3 separate regions of the Homo sapiens genome follow, and regions 1 and 3 are each linked to region 2. Evidence: promoter capture Hi-C in 16 types of primary human blood cells and fetal thymus (Javierre and others, 2016). All regions are on one chromosome and are shown on one strand. Each heading gives the region's core, a stretch centred on a gene start or on the middle of the fragment in contact. The rest is flanking DNA. Distances are from core to core; before and after follow the strand shown.

Region 1 (2,970 bases), core at 243-2,742, 3.1 Mb before region 2:
GGAAGCTGAGAGGGGTGGATCCCTTGAGGCCAGGAGTTTGAAACCAGCCTGGTCAACATGGCGAAACCCTGTCTCTACTAAAAATAGAAAAATCAGCCAGGTGTGGTGACATGTGCCTGTAAAAACATAAAATACATAAATAAGCTAAATTATGCATGCTGGAAATAATTTTTTTTCCCTGTTCTGTTCCTTCAGGGCCTCTGTTAAGTGGGGCTCTAAATATGAAAAGCAGTCAGTTGCCAGCTGGGCCAGTTTATTGAGCAAAGCCATCATCCGACTTTGAATTTTTTCCTCAGTCAGCTAGTCACAAGGAATTCATTATTAAACTGTAGATATAAGCTAAAGGTCAAAAGCATGATATTAGGACTGTGAGCTCCCTACAAATGAAAACTGTTTCCGTTTTGACTTTGGCCCAGTTCTGTGTATCCCACTTTCTCTCTTTTTTCTTTTTCTGTTTTTGAGATGGAGTTTTGCTCTGTCTCCAAGGCTGGCGTGCAGTGGCGTGATCTCTGCTCACTGCAATCTCCGCCTCCCGAGTTCAAGCGATTCTTCTACCTCAGCCTCCCAAGTAGCTGGGATTACAGGAATGTGCCACCTCGCCCGGCTAATTTTTGTATTTTTAGTAGAGTGTTGGCCAGGCTGGTCTCGAACTCCTGACCTCAGGTAATCTACCCGCCTCGGCCTCCCAAAGTGTTCGGATTACAGGAGTGAGCCACCTTGCCCGGCCCACTTTCTCTTCGTAAAAGGATCTCCTTATCTAGGAGAACCAGATAATTCTCAGTTCATGATAAGAAGCTTCGATCGTATAACCACTTGATGTCACATGGTCAGACACTACCAAGGCGCAATAGCTAGCCAGAAACTTTTCTTTAAAAGAAAAGACAAAATTCCAGAATTCTGGGGGCCTTCACTATGATTCTGTAAATATTTCCACGAGTTGCACAAAGCATCCAGGTCTGCCACATCCACTCAACGCTATCAGAGCTGGTGGGATGTAAGGGTTAAGGGGCAGAGCTCATTGCACTGGATCCTGGCCTGGATGGAGAGCCTTTTCTTGCTTTGCACCTCATTCAAAAATGTCGCCTTTCATATCATCTGGTTAGTCGGTCAGAATGGACGAACTAGGAGCTGACTGAACAAAGATTTAAAACACAAAACAGGGAGAATTAGGTAAAAGAAGCATTTTACATGAGTGAGAGAGTAAAAGGTGCTCAATCTTTGTAAACTATAAAAGGGATCTTCCACGGGCCATTTCGGCTCAGACTGACAAGCATGAACGGAACGGAATTATTCCCTCTTCTAACTGCAGCCACGATTTGGCGTTTTAACACCGGGCTCAAGGTAGCCTGGGTCTCTCTTGGCCAAAGAGCCCAGGGATGCCTCTAACTCCTTTTCTAAAGCCGGCCACGGAGGCCCCGCCCTCTGCAGGGAGGCTCCGGATCATGCCCCCTGCTCCTCCCACTACTGCTTTGCGCCTGCGCGGAGGCTCGGGGAGTCGGCGCCATGACCCCATCGAGGCTTCCCTGGTTGCTTAGCTGGGTCTCGGCCACGGCGTGGAGAGCGGCAAGTAAGCACCTGGCCTCGGGGCCACGGTCGCGGGAGGGGTCGTGAAGGCCCAGGCGCAGAGAGAAGCGCCTCCCGCGGAGGAAGCCGCGTGTGTCCTGGCCGTTCGGTGTTGCCAGGGGCTGCCCAGCTTCTCCCGCCCAGCCGCCCACCCGGTGGCCTGGGCAGGTTCCTGCAGCGCCCCGGGTCTCGGGTGGGACTAGAGCGAGAAAATCGCTAAGGCCCTTTCAGCCCCCGGGACGTCCGCTTCCTACCGAGCACGCGGTGGCCCAACAGGACCACAAACGTTCCGGGTTGTTCCTGTGGGAGCTCGCAGGGCACACCGCACTTCGATGCCCCAGAGAAAAATGGAAAAGAAGGCCCTTTGGGAATGGGAGTCATTGATTTACTTATTTATTTACATCATTATTTACAGGAATCCGCGCTCCTGGTCCAGGCTCCAGCAGAAAAGGATTTGTGGCAGTTTACAGTTTATCTTTTAAAAATGGGAAAAGTGCAGAAGTGAGCCAAAGGCAAATAAGTATAACGTAAATTAGATGAAGCCAGGAATTGTCAGTACAGAAAAAGCATTCATGCTTTCAGTAAAACCAACATTTTTAAACCCATTGTTGTTGGAAATTTTTCTCAAGATAATACAGTTAGCAGCCCAGACTATGCAAAACATAATTTTATTTATTTATTTATTTATTTGTTTATTTATTTTGAGATGGAGTCTCGCTCTGTCCCTCAGGCTGGAGTGCAGTGGCGCAATCTCGGCTCACTGCAAGCTCTGCCTCCCAGGTTCACGCCATTCTCCTGCCTCAGCCTCCTGAGTAGCTGGGACTACAGGCGCCCGCCACCGTGCCTGACTAATTTTTTGTATTTTTAGTAGAGACGGGGTTTCACCGTGTTAGCCAGGATGGTCTCGATCTCCTGACCTTGTGATCCGCTCGCCTCGGCCTCCCAAAGTGCTGGGATTACAGGCGTGAGCCACCGCGCCCGGTCCGCAAAACATAATTTTAATATATGACACCTGGAGAAGTTATGTAAGTTGAAAACAGTAATTATTGCCCTCAAATGGTGCCAGATTTCTATGCAATTTGTTTTCCTTTGTGCAATCATTTTACCCAAATACAAACATTTTACTTAATTGTATAAGTTTTAAATAGTCCAGAAATGAATAATACAGAAAGTGAAAGTCCTACATTATCCAAACCTCAAGGTAATAACGTTAAAATTTTGTAGGGTTCATTCAACATCCCCCTTTAACTAGTTTTAAACAATTATGAATTATTCCATATATATATATGTATACACACACACACACGTAGCACACATGTAAGCTATGTAGCAGTCATGTAAGCTATGAAGCACAACCAGCATCTATGAACTTATACTCCAATTTAAGAAATAGTCTCTATTGCCAAG
Region 2 (2,706 bases), core at 27-2,526:
TTTGTGTTGACTAAAATAAGCTCCCGGCTGCCAGATGGAGCTATAAGGTTGCCACCTCTACTGCCACCATCTGGTAACATTAAAAACAAATAAAAATATAGAAACTATACAATTCTGGGTTAGCCAAAGTCAAATTTCCAACACAACTCTTTCTCACGCACAGATCTTTGAAACTATAGAATGCATTCAAACTGATTTGTTCTTTAGTTTTCGTTACTTTTAAATAAACTATATTACAAAAGTGTCAAATAGCAAAATATTTTAATTTTCTCAAATTCAGGGAAGATGCTTTATGACGTACCTGCTTTTCGATTTGTTCCAAGACCTTTGGCAAATTACTTTAGAACTCCATAGGTATCTTGAGGATAACTGAACCTTTTCCTAACTTAAATCATAGACTGCCAGACGGAAAAAAAATGTCCTCGATGTTTTTAGTCTCTTACTGCACAATGTCAAGATATCAGCTGGGTTATACAATAGTTGCCCTCTGCATACTCACAAATGTTAACTCCAGTCCTTTTTTGTCTTCCCTCCCCGCCTAAGAAGCTACCAGGTCACATGCTGGCGGATACGCAGTGGCGGAAACCTAGCGGTGACAGGGAAGGACAGCCCTCTGCCTACTGATCTGCAGGTTTCTCCTCCAGTTTGCTCTTACACCGGGGTCCTCCGCTCGGACCTTAGCCCATTCATTTGATGATTCTCTCCCAGTTCGTTCTTCCACTGGGTCCCTTGCTCAGCACTACCCAAAATAACCACCAGCTCAGCGCCGGCTGCACCGCCGCTCCCCCGCCCCCGCCCCCGCCCCCGCCCCCGCCCGGTGGGGCTGCACCTGCCGAGGCCCCGGCTCGGCTCCGCGATCACGGTCGCGGCCCCCGGGGTTCCCGAGGGGCTTCTGCGCACCGAGGCAGGCGGGACTGAGCGGCACTCTGAACGGGCTCCCCTCTTAATGTCCCCTCGCGCCTGAGCAGCTCCGGTCCCGCCGGCGCAGGGTGCGGGTACCCGGGCCATGCCGGCCCAGAGACCGCCGCCCCCGGTACCGCTGCCCACTCGAAGCCCCTGGACGACCCCGCCGCTTACCGGCTTCGGCCCGTGGGGCGCCCGGTAGAAGAGGCGTGCGGTCCGTGCTCTCCTCGCCATCGTTCCGGGCCAGGTCTCGAACCGGAGACCTCATGACGCCTACGTGAGCAGGTGTACTCGCCACCTGGCAGAGAAGGGAGCGCCGGCCCGACAGCCCGAAGCCCCCGGGCCGAGCTGGCTGGACCGGGCGGGGCGGGGGCGATGACACCGCCCCGCGGCCACGTCTAGTCCCCGCGGTCCCGCCCAGAGGCGGCCGCGCCGACTCCGCCCCCGCCGCCATCTTAGGTGTGGGCAACTCTGGCTTGGGTTGGACTAGGGAAGCGGAGTTCTGGGAGTTCTCGTAGGATTGGCGCAAAGTGAGCCCGCTCCGCCCGCCGGTCTACGCATGCCGGGGAGCCGGTGTTCGGACGACCGTCTCCCGCTCCTGCACCCCCTTGTAAAGTGCAGGGGCCACCCTGCCCGCAGCGAGGATGAGTGGGGGCTTGCGGGCGGGCAGTGGGGACTTGAATTGCACATAATTAAGGGGAGGGCTTCGACCGAACTAGGGAAGTGGGTGGTGTGCATTTCACAACTTGACATTCGCTTGTTAGCGGTCAGTTGCCATACTGTTAGCAACCTTTGTACGATCTACCTCGTGACTGTGGCGGCATATTTACCTCGTGACTGTGGCGGCATATTGTCCCTAAAATAGCTTTTTTTTTTTTTTTTTTTTCTCCCAGGCAGGGTCTTGCTCTGTTGCCCAAGCTGGAATGCAGTGGCGCAATCGCAGCTCACTGCAACCTCCAACTCCTGGACTCAAGCGATTCTCTTCAGCTCCCCCAAGTAGCTGGGACTACAGGAGCATGCCACCACATCTGGCTAATTTTGTTTCTACTTTTTATTTTTGTAGAGGCTTGGTCTTATTATATTGCCCAAGCTGGTTTCGAACTCCTGGGCTCAAGCAATCCTCCTCGGCCTCCCAAAGTGCTGGGATTACAGGCGTGAGCCACTGCTCCTGGTCCTAAAATAGCTTTTAGGCGGAAAAACAGCAATGGAAATTTGTTGAGTCCTATGATGTTGCTGGTTTTATAGGTAAAAGTAATCAACATAGGTAGTTTCATATGGTTCGACCTATGGAATCCTCTGATGTATGTGTGCATGCTTTATCTCCACGATAGAATTTGGATAGATTGTGCTAGCATTTGCGGACTCTGAAAGTGAAACTAGGAAAACCCAGCTTGCCTTGGCAGGGCAGATCTGGATCCGCCAATAAAGGCTGTCTCTGTGGAGGTAGAAAATAAGATGTAGATGCTCTCGGAGAGTTTGGTGTAGACAGGGAAGACCCACAAGCCACTAATTCAGTAAACCAGGTTAGAAGCTTAGTGAGGTTCACGTGAGAACAAAGGGGAGGGTCCTTTACCTAGAAGGGAGGGCGAGGATTTCTGTAGGCATCCCTACCTCCAGATCAGTAAATGCTAGAAAAGTTCTCAAGTTAAAGCAGCAAATCAAGCCTTGTTTCTGAGTTACTGAATTACCATGTAGATTTTTACACTCTCTAAGGGTTGTAGAAAAATGCAATTTTCAAACTGGATTATGCAGAGTCACCTGGCAAATCCTTTTAAAATGTAGATTCAGATTCAGCAGATCTGG
Region 3 (2,703 bases), core at 99-2,598, 3.2 Mb before region 2:
GTCTTAGGCCTGTAATCCCAGCACTTTGGAAGGCCAAGGCGGGTGGATCACCTAAGGTCAGGAGTTCGAAACCAGCCTGACCAATATGGTGAGACCACGTCTCTACTAACAATACAAAAAGTAGTCAGGCGTGGTGGTGTGCGCCTGTAGTCCCAGCTACTAGGGAGGCTGAGACAGGAGAATTGCTTGAACTCCGGAGGCAGAGGTTGCAGTGAGCCGAGATCACATTACTGCACTCCCGCCTGGGCGACGGAGCAATGCTCTGTCTCACACACACACTCGAAAAAAAAAAAAACTGGTACAAAGATATATTCAAAACCTGTCCCCTAAATGGCCTACGTTACAAGACCTCACCATTACTTTCAAATGAATGCACAAAGCTTTTCCCTTCTAATTCATTCTTATTGTGGTAAAATATACATAACAGAAAATTTACCATTTTAACCATTTTTAAGTGCACAGTTCAGTAGCATTATGTCCATTCATTGTTGTGCAACCAACACCACTATCCATCCTAGATTCATTTTTAAAACAAGAGTCGCAGCTGAAATTTTCCTTTCATTAACTCAGCTTTAGCAACATACTGAACTTTATGCACCACAAAAGTTTTTGCCAGATAAGGTTCAGAAACAGGGAAGAGTGAAATAAATCAATGATCCTTCGTGGGCTTCTGTTAACGGAATGTATTAGCGAAAGGCTTCACTTCATCAGCCCCCTCCCGCCCTTTTTGGCGTCATAAACCAAGAAACAACCAGATCAGCACCCACATCTCCCAAGATGCAAACACTGGGTCCCGAAAGGCATCTGTCCTGCCCCGGCGCAGATCCCCTGCAGCCTCCTTTCCTACTGCACAAATCGACTAGCGCAGGGACCGGGCTCTCTACCCGGGACTGCACGGAGGAGCTAAAGAGAGAAAAGGAGAAACAACATTGTGAGAAAAACGGCTAAAGTTCTCGAACTCCGTGTTTTTGCCCTCTTCTTGTTCACTACTCTTCAACCACCTCCAAGTTCCATCCCTTAAACCCACAAGCGAGCCCCTTTTCTTGACGCGCGCCTTTTATTGACGCAAACCTCCCGTTCTCGCGGGAACTTGGGAACGGGAGCCTGGTAGGGAGGACAAATCTCTCGAAATCTCAGTTGGCGCTGGAGCTGGAGGGGCAGTTGAAGCTCCTGAAGGGCGGGGCACGGAGCTTGAAGGGGCGGGGCCTAGCCTCAGAGAGGGGAGGGAAGAGGCGGGAGGAGGAGGTGAGAGAGGCCGGGGGCGGGGCCGTGCGGCCGGGGACCTGTTGATCGCAGGTATAGCCGGCTGGCCCGGGCTCCCTCGGGACTGGGGCGACTGCGCATGCTCGCTGGCCGCGCTGGGCCAGTAGCCGAGCCGCGGTGACGAACCGGCTCCGCGGTTGCGGTGTTTGCGGTTGCTGTGATGGCGATGTGAGGGGGCCCGGGGCGGGATGGTGCTGACCCGGGTCGGGCCGTCTTCTTGCAGCTGGACAACGAGCTCCTCCGTTCGACAGGCGGGGGAAGAGGCCGAGCCGGGCGAGAGGTAACCCCCTTACTGTCCCCTCTGGCTCCCCCGGCTCCCGACACCCACGACCCCTCCCTCCGTCCCTCTTGCCCAGGGGCCAGGAAGGAAGCGGCCTCCTCTTCGTCCGCCGTTCGCCCGCCGCGGCCCCTCACCCGACTGCTGGCGGTCGGAGCCTGGCCCCGGCCCCGTTGAAGGTCGGTGGGGACGGCGGTGCGGAGCGCTCTGAGGGAGGCGAGGGGCCGCGGCGCGCTGCTCTCCCGGTGCCCGCGGCCGCCCCTGCCCCTGCGCGCGTCCCTCGACCCGTTCTTCCTGAACCTCGCGCCTAGCGTGTTTGCCCTTCACCCCTGCTCCATCTTCGTCGCTCTGTCCCTCCTTTACCCGCTTTCGTGGTTCTGCTTTTTCATCCCGCGCCTCCCACGTGTCTTTTTGCCCGGGTGGTCCCTCCTTGGGAAGCAGCGTATCTCTGTGCTTCCATCCCTTGCCTGGCTCTTCCCTGTCCGGAGCTCCTTACCCTGGCCGACCAGGTTTCTCACTCTTGTTACCTCCATAATTTCTTCCTTGGTTTTATTTTCCTCTCATCCACCTCCTTTCGGTACTTCCTCCTGGTTCCCTTTTTGTTAGTTGCCGATTGTGTTTTGCTTTAGCATCGCTTTGCATTGGAGTTCATTCCATGCCCCATCTTAGCTTCGGAAACCCTCACTGCCTTCTCTTTCCTCTGGTACCCTGCTTCATCGCTTTCTGTCTAATGGCCCCTATCCTCACGTCCTTTTCCATTCTGCACCCAGTGAGTCTCTAATCTTAATTTTTTCCCCTCCAAAACTCTTCCACCCTCCCCCCCCCATTTGTATAAGTCAAGCCTCTTAACTTCATTCCATTTGTTTTACTTTTTATTAAATCTCTGAAGACTTCTTTGTGACATACCCTTCTAGTCCTTGCTGCTTTCTGCCTAAGCTAGGTATCCACTCAATGTTTCTAGTTCATCTTCCAGTTTAATAACATTTCTTCTTTCTTTACCGGTTGGTGGAAGTATCATCAAAAGAGTGACAGTAGCAACAAATCGGTTACACTTACTGATTAAAGCTTTAATTTTTAAGAATTATGTTTACCTGGCATGCCTGGGAAAGCAACTTGAGTACAGACTAAATGAAACTATAATGGGTTAAGACTTGTTAAAGGTT

The links. The method cuts DNA at HindIII sites, captures the fragments that hold promoters and counts their contacts. A CHiCAGO score of 5 or more calls a contact.
Region 1: a contact is called between the fragment with the promoter of SDHAF4 here and the fragment with the promoter of SLC17A5 in region 2, in 1 of 17 cell types (total B cells). The highest score is 7.5, in total B cells.
Region 3: a contact is called between the fragment with the promoter of FAM135A here and the fragment with the promoter of SLC17A5 in region 2, in 5 of 17 cell types (activated CD4 T cells, non-activated CD4 T cells, total CD8 T cells and 2 more). The highest score is 8.4, in activated CD4 T cells.

Annotation. Positions count from the first base shown.
Region 1 is chr6:70,565,438-70,568,407 of GRCh38, forward strand. SDHAF4 (succinate dehydrogenase complex assembly factor 4) reads left to right here and starts at 1,493. Exons shown (of 3, transcript NM_145267.3): 1 at 1,493-1,567. The coding sequence starts at 1,504. RefSeq lists a silencer at 1,781-1,840. The HindIII fragment of the contact is 5,796 bases long and covers 794-2,970 here.
Region 2 is chr6:73,652,716-73,655,421 of GRCh38, forward strand. SLC17A5 (solute carrier family 17 member 5) reads right to left here and starts at 1,277. Exons shown (of 11, transcript NM_012434.5): 1 at 1,078-1,277. The coding sequence starts at 1,171. RefSeq lists a silencer at 723-1,392 and an enhancer at 2,392-2,481. The HindIII fragment of the contact is 4,556 bases long and covers 1-2,432 here.
Region 3 is chr6:70,412,160-70,414,862 of GRCh38, forward strand. It overlaps FAM135A (family with sequence similarity 135 member A), which reads left to right and starts at 1,349. Exons shown (of 22, transcript NM_001162529.3): 1 at 1,349-1,543. FAM135A-AS1 (FAM135A antisense RNA 1) reads right to left here and starts at 1,799. Exons shown (of 2, transcript NR_147708.1): 1 at 1,678-1,799; 2 at 669-903. RefSeq lists silencers at 1,156-1,375, 1,716-1,865. The HindIII fragment of the contact is 2,225 bases long and covers 379-2,603 here.